Linked DNA regions of Homo sapiens: region 2 is linked to region 1. The links are contacts of gene promoters, found by promoter capture Hi-C in human tissues and cell types (Jung and others, 2019). All regions are on one chromosome and are shown on one strand. Each heading gives the region's core, a stretch centred on a gene start or on the middle of the fragment in contact. The rest is flanking DNA. Distances are from core to core; before and after follow the strand shown. Region 1 holds the start of SH3BGRL3 (SH3 domain binding glutamate rich protein like 3). Region 2 overlaps ARID1A (AT-rich interaction domain 1A).

The links. The method cuts DNA at HindIII sites, captures the fragments that hold promoters and counts their contacts. A contact is called where the count stands out against the background at its distance.
Region 2: a fragment that was not itself captured here is called in contact with the fragment with the promoter of SH3BGRL3 in region 1 in 2 of the 25 tissues and cell types used here (dorsolateral prefrontal cortex and hippocampus).

The regions. Positions count from the first base shown.
Region 1 is chr1:26,276,417-26,283,663 of GRCh38, reverse strand. It overlaps SH3BGRL3 (SH3 domain binding glutamate rich protein like 3), which reads right to left and starts at 3,578. Exons shown (of 3, transcript NM_031286.4): 1 at 3,461-3,578; 2 at 2,732-2,899; 3 at 2,142-2,606. The coding sequence starts at 3,508. The coding sequence ends at 2,541. CEP85 (centrosomal protein 85) reads right to left here. Exons shown (of 14, transcript NM_001319944.2): 13 at 6,904-7,129; 14 at 4,856-6,528. The coding sequence ends at 6,371. It overlaps UBXN11 (UBX domain protein 11), which reads left to right. Exons shown (of 15, transcript NM_001389556.1): 13 at 727-800; 14 at 875-1,015; 15 at 1,095-1,382. The coding sequence ends at 1,365. RefSeq lists enhancers at 2,283-3,169, 3,170-4,057, 6,608-7,247 and silencers at 3,297-3,746, 3,223-3,794. The HindIII fragment of the contact is 5,211 bases long and covers 2,145-7,247 here.
Region 2 is chr1:26,779,635-26,786,881 of GRCh38, reverse strand. ARID1A (AT-rich interaction domain 1A) reads right to left here. Exons shown (of 20, transcript NM_006015.6): 20 at 4,778-7,247. The coding sequence ends at 6,126. Among named protein-coding and RNA genes, the nearest start is that of PIGV, 4.7 kb to the left of the region's middle. RefSeq lists an enhancer at 13-162. The HindIII fragment of the contact is 6,774 bases long and covers 1,131-7,247 here.

The DNA.
Region 1 (7,247 bases), core at 2,329-4,828:
AACTTCTCCCAGATGCATCCCTTCTCCACATTCCCACCACCCACCACCCTAGTCTAGGGTTCAGAGTGTCTCTCCCAGACAGCTGCCTCCCACTGCCACTCCTGCCCCTGCTGACCATCCTCCAGGCTGCCTTCCCTGTTGAAATGTTCCAGTGGTTCTTGAGATAAAGCCAGGTTCCTTATGCTGGCACTCAAGGCCCGTCCTATATTGCCAGGCCCCTCCTCACACCAACCTTTTCCTTCCAGTCCAATTGAGCCCCAGCTTCAGCCACACATAATGCTGGCAGTTGCCCAAATGTGTCGCCACCTCTAGGAAGCTTTCCCTGAACCCAGGATCTTTGTTGATGCTGTCTGGAATATCCCTGCATCCATTCCATTTCTAAGGACTCCCATTCATCCTTCAGTCACAGCTCAGTTGTCATTTTCCGAGGGAAGCCTTCCCTGACCCCAGGCTGGGGTGGGCTTCCAGCCTGATCATCGTCTGTGTGGGGTTCTGTCTCCATTAGACTGAAACGGGGGGTTACCTGGGGGGAACCATGGGGCTGCCTCCCAGAACCTTCTTCCCCTTCCATTGCCTCTCCTCTGGCCTTGGTTTATACAGAACACCCCCTCCCGCTTTGCTCACTGGTCTCATCTGTCCCTGGTCAAGGAAGTGTCCCTCTAAGGTTTGTGGGGATGACTCAAATGGGGCCTAGGGCTCTGTCCACCCTCCACTGATACCTTCCAGAACTGCTGCCCATTGCCTGCCCGGATCCAGGAGATTGTGGTGGAGACGCCCACCTTGGCCGCTGAGCGAGAGAGGTGAGGGCGGGATGAGGAGGTGAGGGCCTGGGGGCGTTGGGTCACCGCGTGCTGATGGCCTCTGGGCTGTGCAGGAGCCAGGAGTCACCCAACACGCCGGCACCCCCGCTCTCCATGCTGCGCATCAAGTCTGAGAATGGGGAACAGGCCTTCCTACTGATGATGCAGCCTGACAACACCATTGGGGACGTGCGAGCTCTGCTAGCGCAGGCCAGGTGGGTGCAGGGCAGGGCCAGGGCCACAGAGGGGCTCTGGTCCCACTGCCCAGCCTGATCTGCTCTGCCTGGTCCCCAGGGTCATGGATGCCTCTGCCTTTGAGATCTTCAGCACATTCCCGCCCACCCTCTACCAGGACGATACACTCACGCTGCAGGCTGCAGGCCTTGTGCCCAAAGCAGCACTGCTGCTGCGGGCACGCCGAGCCCCGAAGTCCAGCCTGAAATTCAGTCCTGGTCCCTGTCCCGGTCCCGGTCCCGGCCCCAGTCCCGGTCCCGGTCCCGGCCCCAGTCCCGGTCCCGGTCCCGGCCCCAGTCCCTGTCCTGGACCCAGTCCCAGCCCCCAATAAAGCACCCGCCCCCTCAACCCGCTGCTCCGCCAGGCTCTTGGGTGGGCCATCTCGCCAGGCACGTAGGAAAGGCCTGGGACCAGCTGGGCCAGGGAGGGGGCGGTGCCGACCCGCCCCTTGGTAACTCGAGCCCCGGCTGGCGGGCCTGGCTGCTGGGTCTTTGTCTTCTAGGTTCCTCTTTCTCCCAAGAAGGGCTAAGTGGATCCTGTGAAGGGAGGGATGCAGTGGGGGGAAGGAGCTGGCCCCAGCTGGGTTTACATTCTCAGCTGGGACAGCAGAGCCTCACTGTGTATGTGTGCAGCCAGCAGATACCTGTGCACAGGCACAGACCCACCAACTCGTGGGGACACTTCAACACCGCACAAAGCCATTTTGCCACTAGACCCATGCCCCCAAATTAGCAGAACTGCAGCTGGGTACCCACCTCCCATGATACACTCATTCTTAGCCATTGTGCTCCAACACAGGCGCATGGGATGGCCACACTCACTGACAGGCATGGAGATGTGCACTACACACCAAGGCACAAGCATGATATGGACACATGCATGTGAACTGGAGGGTGGCCCACCCAGACATCTCCAGAAACCACTGGTCCATACAGGTATTTGTGTGTCAGACATATCCAAACACATGCACTAACAAACACAGAGGTGACAGTCACAAGAGAACAGCTCAGCCACCCTTCCCACAGAGCAGTCTCAGCACAGTCACAACTACCAACCTTGCCCAGGGCAGGGACCCAGGAGGCCCAGGCCACAACCAACCAGACACAGTGCCAATGGAACAGGACATCATTTAATTGCCTCTAGGGTCCTCCTGGGAGAGGGACTGCGGGGCCTTTGGCAGAGCTCTGGCTGATGGAACCAACAGAGGTGCCCATCAGCCAGTGCCAGGCAGGATGGCGGCCCCAATGCTTGGCTGGGGGCAGCCAGCATTTGGGGCTGTTGCTTAAGACAATTTCTGAGACTAATGGGTAAGGAATGTTGCCTTTAGATGGAGGAGAGGGGACTACATTTAGAGAGGAGGGAGGAGAAGTGGCCTGCATTGGGGGAGGGACTCTAAGGTTAGGTTAGGAATGACAGGGAGTTGGTCAAAAGGTCCTTCATGGCCAGGTGAAGGCTGGGGGGAGTGTGGTGATGGAGTCCAGCAGGGGAACTCTGGACAGGCTTGACTCAAGCCAGCTTCAGGAACTCCTGCAGCGTGTTTTGTTCCACAGCCTCCACGAAGAGCTCATAGTCCTGGAGAAGGGGAGGCGAGGGGTGGTCACCTGAATGCAGGGGGCCCAAGTGCTTTGTGGCAGATATGACCCTGGCTAGAGTCCTCTTCCAACACTCCCCCCACCCCCCCGTCCCCCAGCCCATACCCCACAGTACTGGTCCCCGTTGACAATCTGGGGTGGGGTGGCCTTGGGGTTGCCTGCCAAGGCTCGCATCTCATCCCTCAGGGCGTTGTCCTGGGAGATGTCCACTAGCTGGTATTGGATGCGCTTCCCATCCAGGATTCGGGTCACCTCGCTCTGCTGGGACTTGATCTGGGGACAGAGGGTGGGTAGGGGTTAGTGGATAGGCTGGAGGATTTATGGGGGAAATGCTGGGCAGGGTGAGAGAGGCTGTGACCAGGAGCTTTTGTCCCCCCATTCCCCTCCACACTAGGGGAGGGTTCTGGCCTCTAGGAGTTGGGAGGATGAGTCAGGCTTGAGGTGGTGCAGGATGAAGAGAGGGATTATCAGCCACGGGGGAGGGGGTCAGAGTGAAGGGAAGTGGGATCAGGCTCAGGGTGGGGAGGGGAGGGGAGGGCAGGCTGCGGTCGTGGTCAGGGTCAGCCCGGTAGTGGGAGTGCAGAGAATGGGTGTGGGGTTGATGGGGGATGGGCACGGGAAGTTCATGCCGCGGCTGCAAAGGACCCAGGATGCCCGATGAAGACATTCAGGATGGGGCCTCGGGACCGGGTCCGGGAGACCGTGCCCAGCACCTCGCCGACGCACTCCCCCCACCCCGCCCCCGTCCTGGGGGTGGGTCCCGGGCGCTAGGGTCCAAAGCACCGGGATACAGCCCTGCGCTTTCCCCCAGCGCCAGTCCGGGCGCGCACTTACTTCGCGGGAGCCGGTGACCGACGTGCTGTAGACGCGCAGGCCGCTCATGCTGGGGGTAGACAGACGGGCCGGCGGGCAGAGGGCGGCGGTAGCGGCAGCTGCACTGCCGGGAGACGACGCCGCCGCCGTGCTCGGGAGCGGTTTCCTTCCTGCTCCGCCCGCCAAGTCATCGCGCTCGGGACCAATGGGCGGCGCGGGCAGGCGGGGTGGGACCTGCGCGACACCGCCCCGCACGCCAGAGGCCCCTTCCCTTCCCCCTCGGTTACCAGGCGCGCAACGGACCCGTCCCACGCAGGGCGCCCCTTCTGCGGCTGCCCTGATCGTCCTTTTCGGCCCTTCCCTGATCTGGAGCTCAGTGTGAGACTGGGGAGGGGCCTGGGTGGCAGGACAGGCCCGGGAGAGGGTCTGGCAGAAGCCTCCCTCTCCAGCCGCACACAGGTTTGGTGCATCCAACTCCCCAGCCACGAGAGCCGCTCTCTCCAGGAGGAGGTGCTCTAATAGCACAGGGAAGCTTGGGGCTTTGGAAGGTTTGAGCTGCTTTCAGACCCAAAGTTCTCTAAGAACCTTGCTCCAAGGGATCCCTCGCTCCACCACCCAACACGCACCACTAACCCTAGGGGATAGGAAGCATAGGACAGCAGGAAGAGCCCATGCTTAGAGATTTTCCCCCAAGTTCCTCTCCACTCAGGTGGGAAGGTTTAGACAAGGAAGGGTGATAGCAGGACGCAGAGGCCACACCCTCAAGGAACCAGATGGAGACCAAGGCTGACAGCTGGAAAGCGTGGCGGTAGAGGATGATGTCAGGACTCGAGAGCCTAGGCTCAAGCTGACCCTTAAGATCCACCCCAGGTCTTGGGGTGGTCCAAGCTCAACCCCAGCTCCATGCTGCAGATGGCATTCCCAAACTGCTACTACTCCCAGCAAGAATTCAGCGGTTGAGGGGGCAGACTCCAGCAACGAGCCCAACTTTGGAGACCTAGCTGTCTGGCACTCAACATCATGCTTCTCAGATGTCCCCCTGGTCCAGGGCTCAGGCAGGTTAACAGCCCAGAAAGACAACCCTTGCTCTGGTAAAGCCACTTCCTCACAGCAACCCAGAGGCTGCCAACTTCCTGAGAGGACTGCTGAAACTTTCCAGTGACAAACTTCTGTTATGACTCAGGGAAGGTTTGCCCAAGAGAAAGTGAGTGGGAAGAGATCTGGTTCTATAGAACGACAGAGGAGCAGAGGTGGCAGAGATAGATAGGGACATGAGGCTGGCTGGACCTGCCAAAGGTTCCTCCACGCTGCTGCCTGGGGGACCTGGCTGAACACCCAGGTGTTTGGCTCTAACAAGCCAAAGTGAGGGGTAGAATAGCGTGGTGGTGGTGATGGAAGGGTATGGAAAACTGAGGAGTCTGTTAAGATACTTTATTTTATAATCAAAATACGCAATACAAACAAATGGACATAACAAAGATTCATATAAATAACTGGTTATAAACTTTATGAGGAAAAATACCCGTCAGCATGGTGGCTGGGCTCCCAATGCACAGGGTGGAGACCAACCAGGCGGCTCTGCCTTTAAGCAGCAGGAGCCCAGAGGCTGAAGGGCTGGCTGGGTGGGGCTGCTCTGAATGGAAGGGATAAGTCACTCCATAAATAAAACACAAACTTGTAAAAACACTTAAGAAAGAGCCTCATTCAGGCCCAGGCATGAGGTCCAAGATGCTGCCAACAGCCCAAAGCTTAGCAAAAATCTTGTAGTGGCTGACTGGCCCACACGTGGCCCCTGCCTGGCCTGGCTCCAGATCTAGAGGAGGCACGGCTGGCCCAACAACCAGATACTAACAAGTGTGAGATGCTCCCTAAACCAGGAGGCAAGAAAAACCAGAGGGCAAAGGTCCCTCACTAAAGCCCCAGAGAAACAACCCAGGAAACACTAAAAGCTGTACTTTAAAGCTGACTTGTACTGGGTACTCTGAACTTTCAAGGAGGCCAGAGCAGGAAAGGGAAAGGAATAACCCCCACCACCCCCAACACAAGAGAGGCACAAATTAGAGGGCTGGGCACAGGCTGTAGCCCTGGGTGAGGGGGTAAGCAGCTTGACAGTTGCTCTGTGGTCTCTGGGATATAATTCTGCCCAAGGCTAGAACCACAGAGAAGAGTTTGCACTCTTAAGTCCAGGAAGGGGACTACCTGGAAGGCCTGAGAACAAAGGAGAAAGTTTAGCACACTAAACACATGGCCAGGACCCTAGGGACACAAGGCAGCTGGAGAGTGGGATCTCTTGTTAAATGGCATGGTAGGCAGATTAGAGTCCTGGCTATAATCCCTAGGGCCCCAATCCTAGTAGTTACGTGCTAACCAACACATTACCCTGAGGCTTCTGGGAGAACAAGAGCCCTGAGGAAGAAGCAGTAAGACCAGGCATGAGAAAACCCAGAAAGCCAGCTCAGTTCCCAAGAAGGCTGGCACATGGGGCCTGAGAATTCTTAAATGGCCATTGTCACTGGTACTTGCTCAGCCTTTCCAGGCCCCTCTGATGAGCTCTCTAATCAGCAGGACCAAGGTGTGAAGTGGGAATGAACATGGATCCATCCCATTGGATGGAGAAGAAAGGTGGACAGCCTGTTCGTCTCTCATGTCAGCCTAGGGCTGGGAACAGTTTGTGAGGACTTATCTGTTGTACCTGCCAAAAGTTAATTAGTAACTCACCGTCTAGAGTGAATTAACAGGACAAACGTAATCCAACATGCCAGTGTGGGTAGGACACAGTTCCCTAATCAGCCCTTGGCCCCCAGATGCAGGCTCTCCCCTCCCCTCTGAGACCTCTCTGGGAATAGCAGACAAGAGAATGTCAGGGCAGAAACCTGCTGGACTAGGCTCTCAGCAGCCCAGCTCCTCCCTGGGGGAATCCCCCAGAATTCCTCACTGTGTGACACAGTTTTCTCCCATGTCCTGGGCATATCTGTCTGACATGGTGGTCCTTAAGTCCTCAATGTCACGACGCAGCTGTTGAACCTCTTCTAGTTTCCTCTTGATCACATCTGGCTTCTGCAAATCTAGCTGAGTCTCTGGGTGCTGTGCTGCTGGGGAGAAGAGCATTTCAAGAGAATGTTAGTTATGAGACATTTTCATGTGGAGGGTGCAGTATGGATAGGCAGTATCTTGAACCCACAGTCTTGGGACATGCACTTTAAAAAAAGCATCTGGGGACAGTGGGTTAATTTGCTGCTGAAGGTCCACTTTTAGTTTGTCCTGCATGCAAGTACCCCATAGCTTGTTTCCAAAAACAGATTTGTGAACACCTACTTTGTGAAACAAATAAATGTCCAGAGGGCAGTGGCCAGGACTATGTACTCTGTCTACATATTACCACAAGAATATGGGAAAGCAGGATGGGGGAGAGAAGAGAAAGAAGGACCCTCCTTCCTGGGCCCCAGACTGGTCTGAGGACTCACAGTGAATGCCCAGGAGCAGGGAGAGATTGGGGTCATGGCCCTGGGCCCTCTGGGTCACAATGCTACAGACAGCCTGCAGATCTTGAAGGCAACTGGCCAACTCCTGGTGCAGCTCAAGTGCCAGCTGGGCCGTGTCTGGTGAAGGTGGAGACCCTGGTTGGGCCTGGCGCAGGTGTTCCTGGAGTGTCAGATTCTTCTCAATCAAGTCCTGGTTTTGCACTGAAAGCTGAGCAGACAGATGGGTAAGCACATTAACTCAGGCCCAGGGAGAGGAAGAGTATCTGTGCATGAGTGTGTGGGTGTGGAAGGGATGGGTGAGTCATAGGCAGTGTCCCTCCTTCCCC
Region 2 (7,247 bases), core at 3,268-5,767, 500 kb before region 1:
TTCAGATATCTGTTGTGTGCAAGGTGGAGAAAAGGCAAATCATATTTAGTCGTTGTGTGTTGGAGAAGGGGGAAAAAATGGAGTTTCATGGCCCTTCCCCCAGGTTTTTCAGTGCCACGCACTTGTTCTCAGCTCCAGAGGCCTGTGAGTAACGTGGCAAAGCCTGGGGACACACTTGTGACTGGGGCCTAAGGCTGTGACTTGAATCTCTAGAAGTCCACCATGAGGCTCCAAGCAGCACTCTCTCTGCAAAGACAAAACTGAGAAATGAACTGTCCTTGCTCTGTAAATTCACAAGGGGAAAAAAGACATGCATTCTCAGGGTTCCCTCTGTCCACATCAAATTCTCTCAAAAATCTATTTGTAAAAAGGCCAGGGGTCTCTCAAGACAAGTCAGAATGTTTTTTAAAAGCTCAGCTGTCACCCTGTAGAGGTAGAACTTTATCCAGATTTTCAGCTGTACTTTCCTGCAATTTCTCTTTTCCTTCTCTGCTACCCAACCCCCTCCTCTTCCGCTCTGTTTCCTGTTTCATTTTCTGACTTCTGCTCTGACAGGAAAACAAGGAAGCTGAATCTTGTGCTCTCAAAGCCCTGACTCCCTGGTTTCAGATTGGAAGAAGGCTAGGTGGGATAGGAGGGGATTCTGGGACTCCAAGGCTTTGAGTAGTGACGGAGGCAGCCTCTCAGTGTTCTTGTAGAGTCTGCAGCTAAGATGGAGCCTGCATCTACCCAGGGAGCCAGCTGAGCTACCAGAACTGTGGAAAGCAAGTGAGAAAGAGCCATATCCCAGGCTCCAGAAAGACTCCACACTTCCCAGCCATTTCCATTAAGAAGCACATATCCCACATCACCAAGAAACAATATCACATACAAATCCCTAACCAGAACAATGCAAGCAATGCATTACTATTCTAGAAGCTTAGGATTTAAGAGGGTTACATCATTTCTGTTCTTTGAACTTGCCTGGCTCTGCTCTTGCTATTTTCCCTGCTTGAAGCACTCTACTTCCAGACCACCCTTTGGCTAGCCCATTATGTTTGGGTCTCCGGAGAGAAGTCACCTCCTTAGAGAGGCTTTCCCTGTACTATCCCATCAGTCTGTTCTGTTTTTTTTTTTTTTTTTTTTTTTTTTTAAAGATGAGGTCTCACTATATTGCCAAGGCTAGTCTGGAACTCCTAGGCTCAAAGGATCCACCCACCTTGGCCTCCCAAAATGCTGGGATTACAGGTGTGAGCCACTGCGCCCGGCCTCTGTTTTCTTCATAGCACTTAACACTATCTGCTTGTCCTGTCCATGAATTTTACTTGTTTCAATGTCTGTTTCCCTATTCTAGAATGTAAGCTTCTGAGTGTAATGGAGGAGCAAGGGCTTTGTTCACCAATGTATTTCCAGTTAGAACAGTGCCTTGCACACTGTGTGTCTTCAATAAAGATCTGGTCAATAAATCAATTTCTTTAATCCTATACCTATATTTTATGGATGAGGGAGCTAAGGATCACAAAGGGTAAGTGACTGGCAAGAAGTCACATAGCTAGTGGTAGCGATGGGACTTGAATTCAGGTCTCCAGCCTCCCAGGCTGGTTCTCCCACTCTACACTATTTTAATCTTTCACAGATTTACCTCTTTCCCTCTCTTCCATTTTTCCCATATGTAAGAGTCTTTACGGGCTATGCTAAGATGGGCACACCAAGTCTTAACAGCTCTGACCTACTCTTTCCTCCATCAAATTCCTATCTTATCTGTTTGATTTGTTCAACAGTACAGGAATGCCTACTATGTGATGGGATGAAGATGCAACACTGAGCAAGATAGAAACAATCCTTGCCCTGGTGGAGATGATATCTACCTCATAGGATTTATAGTGCTTGGCATACAATGCTCAATAAAGATGGGCTATTACAACTCACTGAACAAAAAAGTGATTTTCCCACTGAAAGTGTAGAGAAGGAAGTTAGGTGGTTCTCACAGAACACTCACTTCCCTGGAGCAACTGACATTTCTCTCTGTAGCTGCCTTGCCTTGCTCCTGCCTCCACTTCTGGAAGTGGCCTTGGCCCCAGGCTGGGCAGAGGACCAGCCCAGTAAGTAGCCCAACTACTCTCAGCAGTTCAGTTTCTAGAAGCTAAACTTTCCATGGCCCCAGTCCTATGGGATTGGAATAGCTGATCCTAATCTGGGATGCTGGCTCTGATGTCATGCCATTGTGGGGCGAAAGTGACCATACTGGCCTGCTGTACTTTACCAGAACTTTATGCTACTTCTTTTTGCTGTGGGATAAAAGGCATTCATTGGCAGTTTCCAAGATGCTGGGTGACATTTACATCCATCCTGACACTTGGGGTGACACCAGTCAGGTCTCATATACCAAAAGCATCCTTTTTGGCCTCTGCCCGATCACTTGAAGATGCCCATCCACCCAAGGACAAAGACTCTGCCTTGCCTCCAACTGCAGTACCCAAACACTCATCATTTAAAGCCCATGGTCACTAGGTATTTTTCACCATTCCTTCAGTGTTTGCCTTTCAGTGGTTAGAAAACCTTGACCCCACTGAGAGGCCTAGTGGGAAGGCCTTAGCCACTTGGGGGTGGCAGTGGCTGCAAGGCAAAAGAGCCAATGAGGTTGAGAGTATTGTTTAGGCTGGACTTGGCTGCTCTCCAGCTATGAAAGAAGGTTAAGGTCATTTGGGGGGTGGGGAGGGAGGAGCCTGGGAAAAGAACTACTGGCCACACCCCTGGGTTCTCTGCTGGCTAGGTTCTATTTACTTCTCAAAAGCAAATTACTCACAGCTCACTGGCCAGCAGTTCTCTTGGCCATGGTAACTCCAGTCAGAAACTGGAGACCAGGCTAGGCTCTCCCTGCATTGCAGGAGAGCAGATGAAAGGAACCCAGGAAACCGAACTCCTAGGTAATGCTCCACACACAGCCCAGATATGCAATTTCTAGACTAGCAAACGGAGCTCGAGGCCTAGAACAAAAATAGCCATTAGCAATATTGCTTACCAAAATTGTAGATATGAAAAGCTTCCCATTTACCTTTTTCTAGAAGAATCCTAGGAACGCATCTTGGTTGACAAAGGTTTTCCTCTCTCAATTGAGAAATACTAATTATTCAAATCCTGTTCCTGACCCAAATATTAACAGCCACACTTAGTCTGATGAACACTTGATTGAAATTCTGAGGACAATTTTACCTCGTGCTAAAGACAATAAAAACAAATCTTGCTTGCTGAGCTCCACAGCTAGATCCCTTACTCCTGGGTTGGGTTCTCATCCAGAAAGGAGGTAGTGTGGTATATTAAGAAAAGCATGATCCTTGGAGTCAGGTGGAACTTGCTTGGTGTATGAACTTAAAAAGCCTTTCACTTTTCTTAGCCTCTTTCTTCAACTGTAAAATGGGAGCCACATACTGACTTCACAGGCACAGGATTGTTGTAGGATTGTGATGTGCTATGTCCAGAATATAAGTAGGTACACAATAGAAAACTGTTGTTTCTTGTTTCAAATTTCACTTCTAAGTGTCCACAATGATAGCATTTTTTCTCTTTCTGCTTCTGATTTCTCCTGAGGAACTTGAGGCTTCTCTATTGTTTCCCTAAGGAAGGGGGTGAACAGAGAAACTATATATTGTGACATTAGCCTCATAAAAGCAACTGCATCTAGCCAACATCGACAGTATCATTCAACTACTACTTAAGTAGATGCTATGTGCCAGTCTATGTGTTAGCACCAGGATGCAGCAGTGAACAAAACACCCCTCCCACCACCCTCAGTTTACATTTCAGTGGAAGGTGACAGGTAAGTACAACACACAACAGGCCAGACAGTAACAAGTGCCACAGGAAAAATAAGGCAGACAAGGGAAACATAGTGGGGGGCAGAGATTGCTATTCTAAGTAAGGTGACCATGAAAAGCCTTACTTATATATTTGGACAAAGACTTGAAGCAGTCGAGGACTTGAGCCATGCAGTTATTTGGTGAGAGAGTATAAAGTACAAAGACTCCAAGGTGGAAACATCTCTATACAGTGGGGTGAGCAACGGGCAAGACAGATGGTGCAGGAAAGGTAGAGGTAAGCTAGATAACTCAGGGCCTTGTAGGCCACTTTTTAAGAGTCTGGATTTTTACTTACTGAGTCAGAAGCACTGAAGGCGTTTGATCTGACTTACCTTTTATAGGGGTCCTTTTGGTTGCTCTGTTGAGAATAGGTTCAACCAGGCAAAGCAGAAGCAGGGAGGCCAATTTGGAGGTATTTCAAGAATCCAAGATATGACAGTATCTTGAACTACAGTAGTGTGGGATTGAGGATTATTTTATGAAGAGTGCTAACAGATTGGATGTGGAAGTGAAAGAAGTCAAGGATTTTTTTAGCCAAGTGATAGAATGGAGTTGCCATTTACTAAAAGGAAAACACAAACAAAAAAACCAAAACTATGGGAGAAGCAGGTTTCTAGTGGGGGAAGACAGGACATTTTAGCTTTGGCATGTTCAAAGTAAACTTCCAAGCAGGGATGACAAGAAAGGTGGCTGAATGCTCTAGTCTGGAGTCAGGGAAAAGAGCCAGTCCAGAGATATTATAAGTGATTAAGTTGGAGATTGCCTCCAGATAAATGGTTGTCTTATTTTGGAATATAGTAAATAAATGACAGGGTCCAGGAATGCCACTATTTAGGGGAGATCTCACACTAAGGGAGGTTTGCAAAAACAGGACTATCCCCCTGCCCCCCGACAAAAGGTCAAGTTTTAGTTTGAAAACAATAAAAAGCTTCACAAAAGTCTTACCAAGATTTAATGTACATTTATTCTTAACACGTGGAACATATAGTATAAAGATTTCATACTGAATAAATGATATTCATTAAGCCAAAAAAGGAAAAAAAGGAGGAATTTACATCAAGTTTTAGCTACATTGTTGAAATACAAATATGCAGATTTTATCACTGAAAAAATCTCAATTGTGTTTCTTCATCAGAACTTCAACTGAACCTAGAACTTTTTCACACCTCGATTAGAAAGAAAACAAAACAAAACAAAAACCCAGAAAAAAATAAACTATAAGTTGATTGGCTGCTGAGACAGCAAGGACTTTTTACAGAGACCTGTACAGCATCGCACCAAGAGGGGCGATATCTGGCAAGAGATTAAATAGCTGTGTCTCGCTTTGTGCAGGTCACCAACTTGTTAACTCGTCATACTATAAAGGGGTAGCTGGGAGGAGGACCAAACTGTGGGGATCCAAGGGTATGTGCAATGTACAACGTCATATATATACACACGTGGCAGCGTAGCCGCTGCAGCTAAAGGTTAAAACCAGTTCTAAGAGGTGATCTCAGGGTTATTCATACAATCAAGGAGGAGAGAAAGAGGTCAGGGTGTTGTAGGTTCACACATGATACTTTGGGGGAAAAGCCTTTTTTTTTTTTCTCCTCAACGTTTAACTAAAAACATTTTTAAAAACTACAGCTTGCTGCTGACCCAGCGTTTTCTGTTTCCATGTGAGACATTATTATTACAGTATGTTTACAGTATCAGGTGTACAGTACAGTACATGAAAGGGTCTACACTCTACTGCACAGGCCTCTCCAGTGAACAGGGTCTGTTCACAACTGCGAACTTCTTGGCTCCTGCAAGATTGTGAATGTACAACAATAAACCACACACAGTTCAGCAGTCACCTTTTTTGTCCTTCAGAATTTTTTTTTGTATTTTTTTTTTTTTTTTTTACCATTAAAAACAGTTATGAAATGTGGCATCCCGTTGATGCAAGGACTGGGAAAGCCATTTTTATTTTATTTTTTTTCCCCAAACTCACTGTAAACAACAGTAACTTTGGTTAAAATAAAAAAAGTCTTCTATGTAGGCAGAGCTTTGTCTTTTCAAAGAGGGTGGGGTAGGGTCCTGAGGGGAGTAAGGTGAGGACAAGGAACAGAAAGGCGTGAGGTGATGGAGGGAGGGGAGGTGGAAGGAGGAGAGAGAAACAGGAGAGACTTTTTCCCAAGGGAGAAGCTGGACAGCACAGGGTAAACTGGATTCTGAGGTGGTTTTGCATAAATAAAGGGCAACAGTCAGTTTCTAAGTTCTCCACACACGCACACACACACGGGGGGGGGAGGTGTCCCACGGCTGTCATGACTGGCCAATCAAAAACAGTACATCACAAATGACTTGTGAAACCAATGAGTTCATCAACGGTGATACCGAGATGTCCAACAGCCGTGATTCGTACAGAGTAAACTCTGAGTGGTTCTCGTCCACCTTGGCCAAGGCAAGCAGCGCGCGGGCAGCCCGCCGCATCATGTCCACACTAGTTGGCTCAAAGGGTGGGTTCTGCATGTGGAGGAGGCTGGCCTGGCTCTGCTGGAACTGTGTGGCGGCAAGGCTGTCCTCTAGGAAGCCCAGGAGGTTGCCGATACTGCCCTTCTGCACTGCAATGGCACGAGCTGCCAGGCTGTCCCCCTGAGCCAGGTTGGCCAGCAGTACCACAGCCATCTCCCGGCACACCGGGTTCTTTCGGTCACTGAGGAAGCGCACCATAGTGCTATACAACTTCTCCAGGCGGCTGAAGGGGGGTGTGGCCAGAATCAGGTCCACATTGTTGTCCTGGATGCTGAGTTTGCTGAGGGTTTCCAAGACCAGTCTCTGCGGGGAAAGGACGGCATTGGGGCCCAGGGTGGAAAAGGGGTCCTGGGCTTCAGCTGAAGGGCAAACTGCCCAGTGTAGGAGTCCGTCCAGGACAGGCAGGCAAATGCTCTCGGGGTATGGAGATAGGTCCAACTGCCCCGAGATGTTGGCGAGTGTAACCAAGGTGTTTTCCCGGAGCATCTCCAAGCAGTCCCACCACCACTCCACTTTGTTGCAGCTCACCCCTTGGTCCTGTTCCTCCTCCTTTTCATAAGTTAGTGGTGCCTGCTTCCGTTCTGGGTGCTTGTGGTGCAGCAGGATCAGCTTGCCCAGGATGAGCAGCAGCCCTGGGTGTTTGGACATCTCAAAGTCATTGCCTGGCACAAATGACAGGCTTCGAATGGTATTGGACACACAGACGCAGCGCTTGGCAAGAGAATCCTGCCAGTCCAGAAGGGTACACAGTGGGGTCTCATCCTTACTGTGGGGTTCGTCCTCTAGGATCTTGATGTTCCGGTGGCTCTGTGCTGGGCTAATGCCAAATGGAAACTTGCTGCTCTCCTTGATGGCCTCTGAACTCTTAGCTCCATCCTCGGTCAAGGTGCTAGACCGAGTAGACAACATGTC